2 separate regions of the Homo sapiens genome follow, and region 1 is linked to region 2. Evidence: promoter capture Hi-C in 16 types of primary human blood cells and fetal thymus (Javierre and others, 2016). All regions are on one chromosome and are shown on one strand. Each heading gives the region's core, a stretch centred on a gene start or on the middle of the fragment in contact. The rest is flanking DNA. Distances are from core to core; before and after follow the strand shown.

Region 1 (4,905 bases), core at 1,828-4,327, 130 kb before region 2:
AAACTGAATATTTCAGAGGAAGTCACTAATAATAGGTGTCTCGGGGGCTTCCGTGAAGGTTCAGGGCTCTGGACATTCCCACTCCACTCCTATCAGAACAGCTCTGTTTTTATTTGGTTAATACATCAGGATTCTGCCTAAGAGTTCATTGAGGAAATAGCACTACAGCACCTCCTCTGGCCAGATACTGTGCAAAGAATTACAAAATAAATCACAGACGAGTGGAGAAGATAGGAAAGTAAATACACTCTAAAACAATAAAGGAGTACAGTGACAGAAAAACGCACAGATTATTAAGGGAACTCAAAGAAAGTCTAGTAAGCCCAGAAAGGGGTAGGGCTTATGGGAGGTTTCACGGAGTGGATACCTGGAAAGGGGAGGTAAGGCAGCTCAAAGGACACTGTTGTTCAACGGAGGGAAGCGGATTCAACAATTATACAATTCGCTGAGTCGGGGCTTTCACTGCGAAAGAACTTGGCTTCGGATCCGTGATCAAGGCTGGGAGCTATGGAGGTGGATGTGATTGGCAAAGACCTCTGCTCAGGTCTGCGTCAAACCTTGCTTCGCTCCCATCCCATTCTGCGCCAATAGGGCGCAGTATCCCAACCATTCCACTCGGCTAGGAGGGGATCCTAAGCCTCAAGGTCCGCATCTCCCGCTGGAGGGACTGAGCAGCCGCACTGGTGTCCCAGAATAGATCGTGTTCCCCAGAGGTTGTCAGGTTCCCGCAATTCGGCGCGGGCGAGGCGGCCAAAGAGAGGGCGCTCATTGGCTGCCACAGCCCCGGTCCGAGAGGCCGAAGAAGGCTGATTCGTCACAGGCCGTCAGCGCGGGCCACGCCTATTTCCTCTCCAGGTTCTAATTAGGTCAGGGGCCCTACAGCCTCTTGGGTAGTTTGCAAGTGCGTCGCGGAGCCGGCCTCGGAAATATGGCGACAGCTTCAGCTTTCAGTGTGAGGGAGCCGAGGGCCCAGCCAAACCCTGCGGGAGGCAATTCCTGGGTACCCTTCCCATATTTTCGGTCTTTGGGCTGCGCCGTGGTAACCTCAGAGCCTGGTTGCGTGCTCACCAGCGACAAGTGTCTTTCATTGGGACATGAAAGGGGACTGGGAAGTGCCGTGCAGTTTCAGGGTGGTTTCTGGTTAATTACATTTTCATGGGTTTTCGCAGAGTCTGGGGGCAATTTGTGTCCTCCAGAGACCAGGGACCAGGGCCGAAGCTACGGCAGGGGAGACGCGGCCAGGGCCGTGGCTTCTAGTGCGAGCTCGGTTCGCGTCCGTTCCCGTCTGGCGCCCGGGCCTCCGGGAGCCCAGGGCCTTGAATGAGACAGTGCTCGTCCTTGAAAAAGCAGTTCTAGGTCACTCGGCCTGCTTTGCCAGCATTCCGGGCCCCAGCTCACCTTCCGCCATCCATGTTGACAACACCAGTTCTACGACGAAGCGGGCGATTCCTCTTGCCTGGAATTTCACTCGTCCCCGGTATCGAACCCCCGCCCCAATTTTCTACGTTACAACTCCAGCGTATTTTTAACGGCGCAGCCAGTATCACCTCCTTGGTATAAAGCCTGCGCTGTCCTGGACCTTCTTAGGAGTGCAGGCTTAGGAACAGGAGCTATGCTGTTCTATTATTTTTCTTTAGTTTAATTTTTTTTTTTTAGAGATGGGATCTCGCTGTGTCGCCCAGGCTAGAGTGCAGTGGCGGGATCATAGCTTACTGCAGGCTGGGGTCAAGCAATCCTCCCGCCTCAGCCTCCTGAGTGTATGGGATTATAGGCGCAGGCCTCTATGCCATTGTAAATGCTGTGGATTTTGAGTATTTGACCTCTATGAGCCTCAGTTTTTGCATCTCAACATTGAGATAATACTAGTACCTCATAAGGTTATGTGACGATTAAATGGAAAGCTCTTACAATATAAGTGCTTAATAAGTATGTTATCATATGTGCTTCCAAAGTACTTTGTGTAGGCCTTTTATAACGCTTGCCCTTTCTATTACCATTATTTGTTCTTGCCTGCCCTACTAGACTGAGATTCTCAAAAGCTGGAACTGTCTTGTTTATAATCTCAGCGTCTGTCAGTGCTGGGCAAATGTAAAGCTAAGAAATGATTTCTTAGAAAACTTTTTAAAAGCAGTCTTTCTTCTCCTTTCCCTTTCTTCCTTTCCTTCACTTTTTCCTCTTTGAGATAGGAATTTTCAAACCTAGAGAAGAAGCTGAGACCCTAGGGGGAAAGATTGGGACCTTTTTGTTGTTGTTCTCAGTGGTGACCAAAAGAGCCTTAACATTCACCTCAGCCTGACAACTTTAGACAGGTTTCTTCTGGATGTTAGGGCCCTGACCTCCCCTTTCTTTGAGTGTTTACTTTAGAAAACTTGTGATTGCAAAATTCTTCTCTGCTCCTTTGAAATGTGTATAAATCTCCTTAGAAGCTTATGCCAGTTTTACGACCTAGGGAATGTCTTTCTCAAGGACCTGTGAGCCATCCCTTTGAAATGTAATCATCAAGGAAGATAGCACCCCTATCTCTCAGTCTCTGTGGGAGGGTGGGAGCCTAACCTCCTGTGGGTGCCTTGTTTGGAATTGTAAAACTACAGCTTGTTTTGAAGATACAAGAAAGTGTCCTTTTCCTTTGCAGTTAGCAAACACAGATGTCATGTGATTTCCCGTACAGCAGCTCTTAAAAACTTCCCAGACCCTTGTTTGAGTAGTGTTGAGTTTAATCTCGTATTGCAATAGTCTTAAGGTCTTTCTTGCCTGTTTAACTTTGATGCAAATTTTGACAATGGAAATTTTAGGTTCTGCATTTATCGTTTCTTCCCAATTACAGTGGTTTCTCCTTTCTCCTTGTTAAGAAGAGCTTCTCACATCCTCTGATTTCTGGAGAAATCAATTTGGACTCAAAAGATTGGAGTTTTGTGGAGTGAAGCTACTGTTTTTGTTTTGTTTTGTTTTGTTTTGTTTTGCCTGAGATAGAGTCTCACTCTGTCACCCAGGCTGGAGTGCAGTGGTGTAATTATGGCTCACTGCAGCCTCTGCCTCCTGGGTTCAAGTGATCCTCCTGCCTCAGCCTCTCAAGTAGCTAGAATTACAAGCATGCGCTACCACGCCCAGCTAATTTTTGTATTTTTATTAGAGACGGGGTTTCACCATGTTGACCAAGCTGGTCTTGAGCTCCTGGCCTCAAGTAATCTGCCCACCTTGGCCTCCCACAGTGCTGGAATCACAGGTGTGAGCCACCACGTGCTGCCAGAAGCTACTGTTTTAAGTCATCATTGCAAAGGGTAGTGTGTGATGCGCAGGAGTGGAAAGGGCAGTACATCTATTTGAGAGCATCCCAAATGAGGTCCATTCATATTATGGAAGTGCACTGCGAAATAAAGAACAGGCCTACCCCCTTGTTTTATTATGAAGGGGTATGAGAAAAATGCAATTTTCAAAGAAAGAGAACTGCTGAGGATGTAGTACCTTCTCAAAGAAAGCTGTGTTTGGTTAAGGTGAGAAGCTAGAGGAAGCCACAGAGGGCAGGGTTACAAATTGAAAGACTTCTGCAATGGTAGAGGTAGTATGCAGAAGGGTTCCTTAAAATACAGGGATCCATGTAAGATGAGGAGGTAAGGTGGAGTAGGATTGAGGTGGAATGAAATGAAAGATGGAAGAGAAAAAGGAAGGCAGTAGGGGGAGAGGGGAGTTAATTTGGGGTATGGATAACAGGGAAGGAAATAGGTAACCTGAGAAGCTTGGTAGAGGCACTTGCCACTTGCATGGGAAGGGAAATATCATGCAGACGGTCCTGTTGCTAAAGGAAGCTAGAGGATTTAGGAGAAGGGGTTTGGCACACTGGCCTCTATCACCCATCCGTCCCCGACAACACACAACACAGACAAATTGAGTGCACTGTTGACATTTAGTATCATTCTCCCCCCATGACTGGTGGAAGCTAAGAAGATGAAGTTCAGGGTGCTGATCTTTTTTTTTTCTTTAACTGACTTTTCTTATGTGAGTACTTACCCCTAGTTCCCTCTTTCTTCCCTTCCCTTCCCTCCCTCCCTCCTTCCCTCCCTTCCTTCCTTCCTTCTTCTTCTTCATTTTTTTTTTTTTTAATGAGACAAGGTCTTGCTGCGTTGCTCAGGCTGGAGTGCAGCAGTGCTATCATTGCTCGTGCAGCCTTAACCTCCCAGGCTCAAGCAATCCTCCCACCTCAGCCTCCTCAGTAGCTGGGACTACAGGCATGTGCCACCACACCCAGTTCATTTTTTAAATTTTTTGTAGAGATGGGTCTCCCTATGTTGCCCAGGCAGGTCTCAAACTCCATCCTCAGCCTCCCAAAGTGCTGAGATTACAGTCATGAGCCACTGCGCCCAGCCCTTTTTTTCTTGCTTCTTTACCTACTTTTCACAGGAATTGGGTAGATGAGGGTAGACCCAGGAAGTGAGAGTGGAATTTGAGAAAGAAAAACAGTAAAATGAAGAGCTGAAAAATAAAAGAGTTTATTTCTAAATGTATGTACGAAACTCAGGTTGGGGGACTAGCATGTAAAGGTATATACAAATAAAATGGAGTTAAGTGCACTTATTTATTGAATCCTGTTGTGAGAACTTAAGAGGAAAAGAAACTGAGGAAAAAAACTAAGGAAAATCCGAAATTCTCCCGAGGAAGGTCCAAGAAAAAACAATGTGGAAGTGAAGTCAGAGAGATAACATCAGGACATTGGACATCAGGAGGAACTTTCAGGTCTGATTCTAGTGCCAAGGAAGCCATGAACGCTCTTTCCTGGAGCCTTTCAGCATAGGAGAGTTACTCATCTGCCAGGGCTGGGGATGGGGTAACTCTCCCATTCCCCAGGTGAAGGAGCTTTCCTTTCAGGGCCTTCCTGCTAGACAGACTGTGGCTGGGCCAGCCTGGTTCTTC
Region 2 (5,218 bases), core at 615-3,114:
GGCGCAGTGGCTCATGCCTATAATCCCAGCAGTTTGTGAGGCTGAGGTGGGTGGATTGCTTGAGGCCAGGAGTTCGAGACCAGCCTGGCCAACATGGCAAAACCTCGTCTCTACCAATATATAAATAAATAAGGGCCAGGCGCAGTGGCTCACGCCTGTAATCCCAGCACTTTGGGAGGCCAAGGTGGGTGGATCACCTGAGGTCAGGAGTCTGAGACCAGCTTGGCCAACCAGCCTGGTGAAACCCCATCTCCACTAAAAATACTAAGATTAGCTGGGCATGGTAGCAGGAACCTGTAATCCTAGCTACTTGGGAGGCTGAGGCACGAGAATCACTTGAACCCAGGAGGCGGAGGTTGCAGTGAGCCGAGATTGCACCACTGCACTCCAGCCTGGGCAACAGAGTGAGACTTTGTCTCAAAAAAAAAAAAAAAAAATTAGCTGGATGTGGTGGCACATGCTTGTAATCCCAGCTTCTTGGGAGGGTGAGACACAGGAATTGCTTGAACCCAGGAGGTGGAGGTTACAGTGAGCCAAGATTGTGCCATTACATAGCCTGGGCTGAGCAAGACTCTGTCTCAAAAAAAAAAAAAAAAAGCACTGGTCTAAGCTACTTCCTGGAGCTTTGATTTTTAAAAGAAACTGTCACTGTCTAGCCTGTGACTGATGAATGTATGTGATTGCCCTCTGGAAAAGTATGATATGCTTGGCAATTTGAAGTATTCTTAGAATAATACTTTAAATTATTCCCAACTAAACTGTGTCCAAAATAGGTCCTTGATAAGCTAATCCTTACTTGGCCCCCTTCATTTCCAACCCTTTGAAATTCACTCTGCTCCTTTCTCCTGATCTTCTGGAAGTTTCTTTCTGAATCTAGAGAAACTCTCCTCACCAGAGAGGAATGATGTAAGCAGGCTCAATTAAATGCCCGCTGTGTATAATGAAGCATATTGTTAGGTGCAGCATGGGACATAGAAGTTCAAAGACTATAGCTCTTGAGGATATCTTTATTTAGTTGGAAATACAAGACAGAAACATTCAAAGTAAAGTAAATTTATTCCTTATATTTAGGTAGCCCTTGTTCATCTACCTCTTCTGAAATTTTGCAATAATTCTGTGATGTTGGTAGGAAGGGAATGTGATGTTAGATAAGAAGTCAGATGGCCGGCACATCCATCTGACAGCCACACCACTGATATTAAGGGATTTGTTAATGTCATATGGCTCCTAAAGAGCTAGGATATGCATCCATATCTTCCAGCTCCAAGTACGAGTTTTTTTCTTTTTAAAAAATATTGTGTCACATTATACCCTCTAATGCCAAATTCATTTAAAATAAAGAAAAAGCCATATAAGATTGCAGAAGTAATTTTGGTGGTTGTGGTAGTTAAGAGGCAAGAAATCATTTGAAAGAGTTTGGGGAGTCTTCAGTGAAGAAGGATAATGTAGCAGTACCTTGAAAGATGAGCAGGACTTATCTGGGCAGACAAAGAGGATGAGAAATCCAAGAGAGGGGATGAGATGGAAAAAAACACAGTATGTTCAAAGAATAATGATTAGACCAGTATCCTCAGGCGATGTGAAATCTAGATTGTTTCAGTACAGTTGAATGCGTCATCTAAATTTCCCAGGTGTGGGAATCAGTGTTTAGGGTAGAGGGATCACACAATTGGTTCCTTTTTTACTTCATGCTCTTGCACAGAATCCACTGTGTAGAATTAGGGAGACATGACTTCAGATACCTGACTGGTGGAATTAAAGGTGGGAGTTTCTAATCTGGGTTGTGTTTCATGGACTACCCCGTGTACTTTCTACAGGCAGTGTGTTGCTTGTTTTGGATAGTTGGGAGCAGCTTCGCTCACCTTAAGGAACTGTGGGTAGATGGTTTGCAGGACCACATACACACACAAAATAGCCGACTAAAGAAAGCGGTGGAGATCGAGATCAGTAAGTTTGATTTGGGAACAAAACCCTGGAGACTCTATAGGTAGGTGACTGTTGGGGGTGGACAGGCGCTGAAGACTTGGATTGGTTTAGACCTAGAAGGAAGTGGCATTTGATTGGTTATTATAAGTGAAAAGGGCCCCTCCCCGGGTGAGATATGCCAGCCCCATAATTAGGACCTGAAAATCTCTGCCAGGCCTGCCTTTGTGACGTGGCCCAGTCTACCTCAGCTATGGAACAGGCCTTGACTGGTGAGGCCCAAAGCCGGTGGCCCCGCAGAGGCGGGAGTGGGGCCATGGCTGAGGCGCCTGGGCCCAGTGGCGAATCCCGAGGACACTCAGCCACTCAGCTGCCAGCGGAAAAAACTGTCGGGGGACCATCGAGGGGCTGCTCAAGCTCCGTGCTCAGAGTGTCCCAGTTGGTGCTCCAGGCCATCTCCACTCACAAAGGGCTGACTCTGGCAGCTCTCAAGAAGGAGCTCCGAAACGCCGGCTACGAAGTGCGCAGGAAGAGCGGCCGCCACGAAGCGCCCAGGGGGCAGGCCAAGGCCACGCTCCTCCGGGTCAGCGGCAGCGACGCCGCCGGCTACTTCAGGGTCTGGAAGGTTCCCAAGCCCAGGAGAAAGCCGGGACGCGCGAGGCAAGAGGAGGGCACGCGCGCTCCCTGGAGGACCCCAGCCGCGCCCCGGAGCTCCCGGAGGCGCCGCCAGCCCCTTCGCAAGGCGGCCAGGAAGGCCAGAGAAGTGTGGAGACGGAACGCGAGGGCGAAAGCCAAGGCCAATGCCAGGGCGAGGAGGACCAGGAGGGCAAGGCCGAGAGCCAAGGAGCCGCCGTGTGCCAGAGCCAAGGAGGAAGCGGGAGCGACAGCGGCAGACGAGGGGCGAGGACAGGCCGTGAAGGAAGACACCACGCCGAGGTCAGGGAAGGACAAGAGGCGAAGCTCCAAGCCCAGGGAAGAGAAGCAGGAGCCCAAGAAGCCCGCACAGCGGACCATCCAGTAGCCAACGCGGGCTAAAACCGACCGGACATCTAGCGGGCAGGGGAAGACTCCACTAAAGACTTCCACAAAGACCTCCCCTAAATCTGAAGGTCTTCCTGATCCAGTTGGGAATGCATCTTGTGGGAGCAGCTTCACTCCCACCACGGACCAATGCCTTTCCCCCATAGGCCCCAAGAAGAGCGGCTGTCACACTCATTGAAATGAAATGGACCTCTAGACCACCTTGTGTCTGTTTCCTCTTTGCCGCACCTGGAAGGGAAGGGGTGGGTGGTGGTAACGTTCAGTGAAGACAGTAAATTAGCTGAGATTCTGTTCCTGCTGCAGAACTCAGAGAAATGTCTTTTAGAAGGAGAGAAAACAGAGGAAAACCAGCAGCTTAACAAGTGTTGAAGTATTGTTAGATACTCTAGCAAATCCAAATTGAGTTCTGGGGAGGAAGGCATGTTGGGAAAAGAGTAGACAGTCTTTAAGTTGAGTGGTCCCACTGATTCAAAGTGTTCTTACCTGAAATTCCTTTTAGGACAAAGTCCTCCCAAAATTGATTATAATGAGTTTGTAGTTTTTGCCTTGAATTGATAACCTATTTTAATTTAAAAGATATTCTTATGTCAATCCTCAGTTAAATAAGTGTATGAAAGCATCCAGCATAGGGCCTGGCATAGGATAGGTACTCATCACTGAGAGTTAAATATGTGTATAATTAATTCCCGATGGAGTGGTAATGTGCTATAGCAGAAAACTGCTGGACCACTATGTAGTAAGACCAAGATTCTAGTCAAAGTTCTGCTAGTCTGACCTTTGCTGAGTTATTTCTTAACCATTCATGGTCTTGGTTTTCTTCTCAGTAAAATGTTGGGATTGAGCTAAGATGATTTCTAGGTGATTTAAATGTCAGTAAAATGAAAAGGGGACTTAAACATCATGGCATAATGGTTTTCTTGACAAAATTCAGCAATAAGGAAATTATCTTCTGAGAAAGTGCCAACTCCTAAAGAGGAAATTATGAAGATTGACAGATTGCATAGCACAAATACAAGGAGATGGAGAAGGCTAGATAATGAATAGGTCTTTTGCTTTTCTTAACAATAACAACATGTATTGAGCACTGTGTAACAAGTATGAAACAAATGTATGATTTTAGTTCTGAATGCAGGGGTTAAGAAAAGTGCAGGAGTAGTTCTCATGCCATAGGCTGACAGGACACAAATGATTCCTCGGGAAGTAAAACGTCAAATTAGCTGATTGAAGGAAAGAGTAGCTGTTTTCAGCCGAAGTCAAAGGAATGGGGACATGGAAGCGGCTGGGAAGTACTTTGTATTCTTAAAGAGGTAAAAGTGGCAGTGGGAAGGTATTAGAACCTCCTGGGAGCTTTCTCCAGGTACACCTGACCAAGCTTTTCCTCAGGAGAGTCTTATATCTCCTACAAGCGGCAACAGGGTATGTGTATTTAAAACAGACCAAAAAAAAAAAAAAACACCAAAAAACCACCCTTAAGTGATGCTAATATTTACCCTTTCACACCCTTGAGAATCACTGCTTTAAGCCTATGCAAAGCCTAGTAACCGCAGAATTCTTGCAGCATTATCTCATCTATAGATGATCAGAACTTGACATTTCCCCATGTTGTAATTAAGTTTATTTTTTTTTTTAATTTATTTTTTTATTGATAATTCTTGGGTGTTTCTCACAGAGGGGGATTTGGCAGGGTCATGGGACAATAGTGGAGGGAAGGTCAGCAGATAAACAAGTGAACAAAGGTCTCTGGTTTTCCTAGGCAGAGGACCCTGCGGCCTTCCGCAGTGTTTGTGTCCCTGGGTACTTGAGATTAGGGAGTGGTGATGACTCTTAACCAGCATGTTGCCTTCAAGCATCTGTTTAACAAAGCACATCTTGCACCGCCCTTAATCCATTTAACCCTGAGTGGACACAGCACATGTTTCAGAGAGCACAGGGTTGGGGGTAAGGTCACAGATCAACAGGATCCCAAGGCAGAGGAATTTTTCTTAGTGCAGAACAAAATGAAAAGTCTCCCATGTCTACTTCTTTCTACACAGACACGGCAACCATCCGATTTCTCAATCTTTTCCCCACCTTTCCCGCCTTTCTATTCCACAAAGCCGCCATTGTCATCCTGGCCCGTTCTCAATGAGCTGTTGGGCACACCTCCCAGACGGGGTGGTGGCCGGGCAGAGGGGCTCCTCACTTCCCAGTAGGGGCGGCCGGGCAGAGGCGCCCCTCACCTCCCGGACGGGGCGGCTGGCCAGGCAGGGGGGCC

Evidence for each region. Contacts are between HindIII fragments. The CHiCAGO score rates a contact against its expected background, and 5 or more counts as called.
Region 1: a fragment that was not itself captured here is called in contact with the fragment with the promoter of H1-7 in region 2 in 2 of 17 cell types (M0 macrophages and M1 macrophages); the score reaches 6.0 in M0 macrophages.

The regions. Positions count from the first base shown.
Region 1 is chr12:48,197,469-48,202,373 of GRCh38, forward strand. It overlaps LOC102725258 (a long non-coding RNA gene), which reads left to right and starts at 893. Exons shown (of 3, transcript XR_001749122.3): 1 at 893-952. It overlaps OR10AD1 (olfactory receptor family 10 subfamily AD member 1), which reads right to left. Exons shown (of 1, transcript NM_001004134.1): 1 at 4,871-4,905. The coding sequence ends at 4,871. The HindIII fragment of the contact is 1,307 bases long and covers 2,425-3,731 here.
Region 2 is chr12:48,327,116-48,332,333 of GRCh38, forward strand. It overlaps H1-7 (H1.7 linker histone), which reads left to right and starts at 1,865. Exons shown (of 1, transcript NM_181788.1): 1 at 1,865-3,164. The coding sequence starts at 2,177. The coding sequence ends at 2,944. RefSeq lists an enhancer at 2,623-3,122. The HindIII fragment of the contact is 4,449 bases long and covers 1-4,334 here.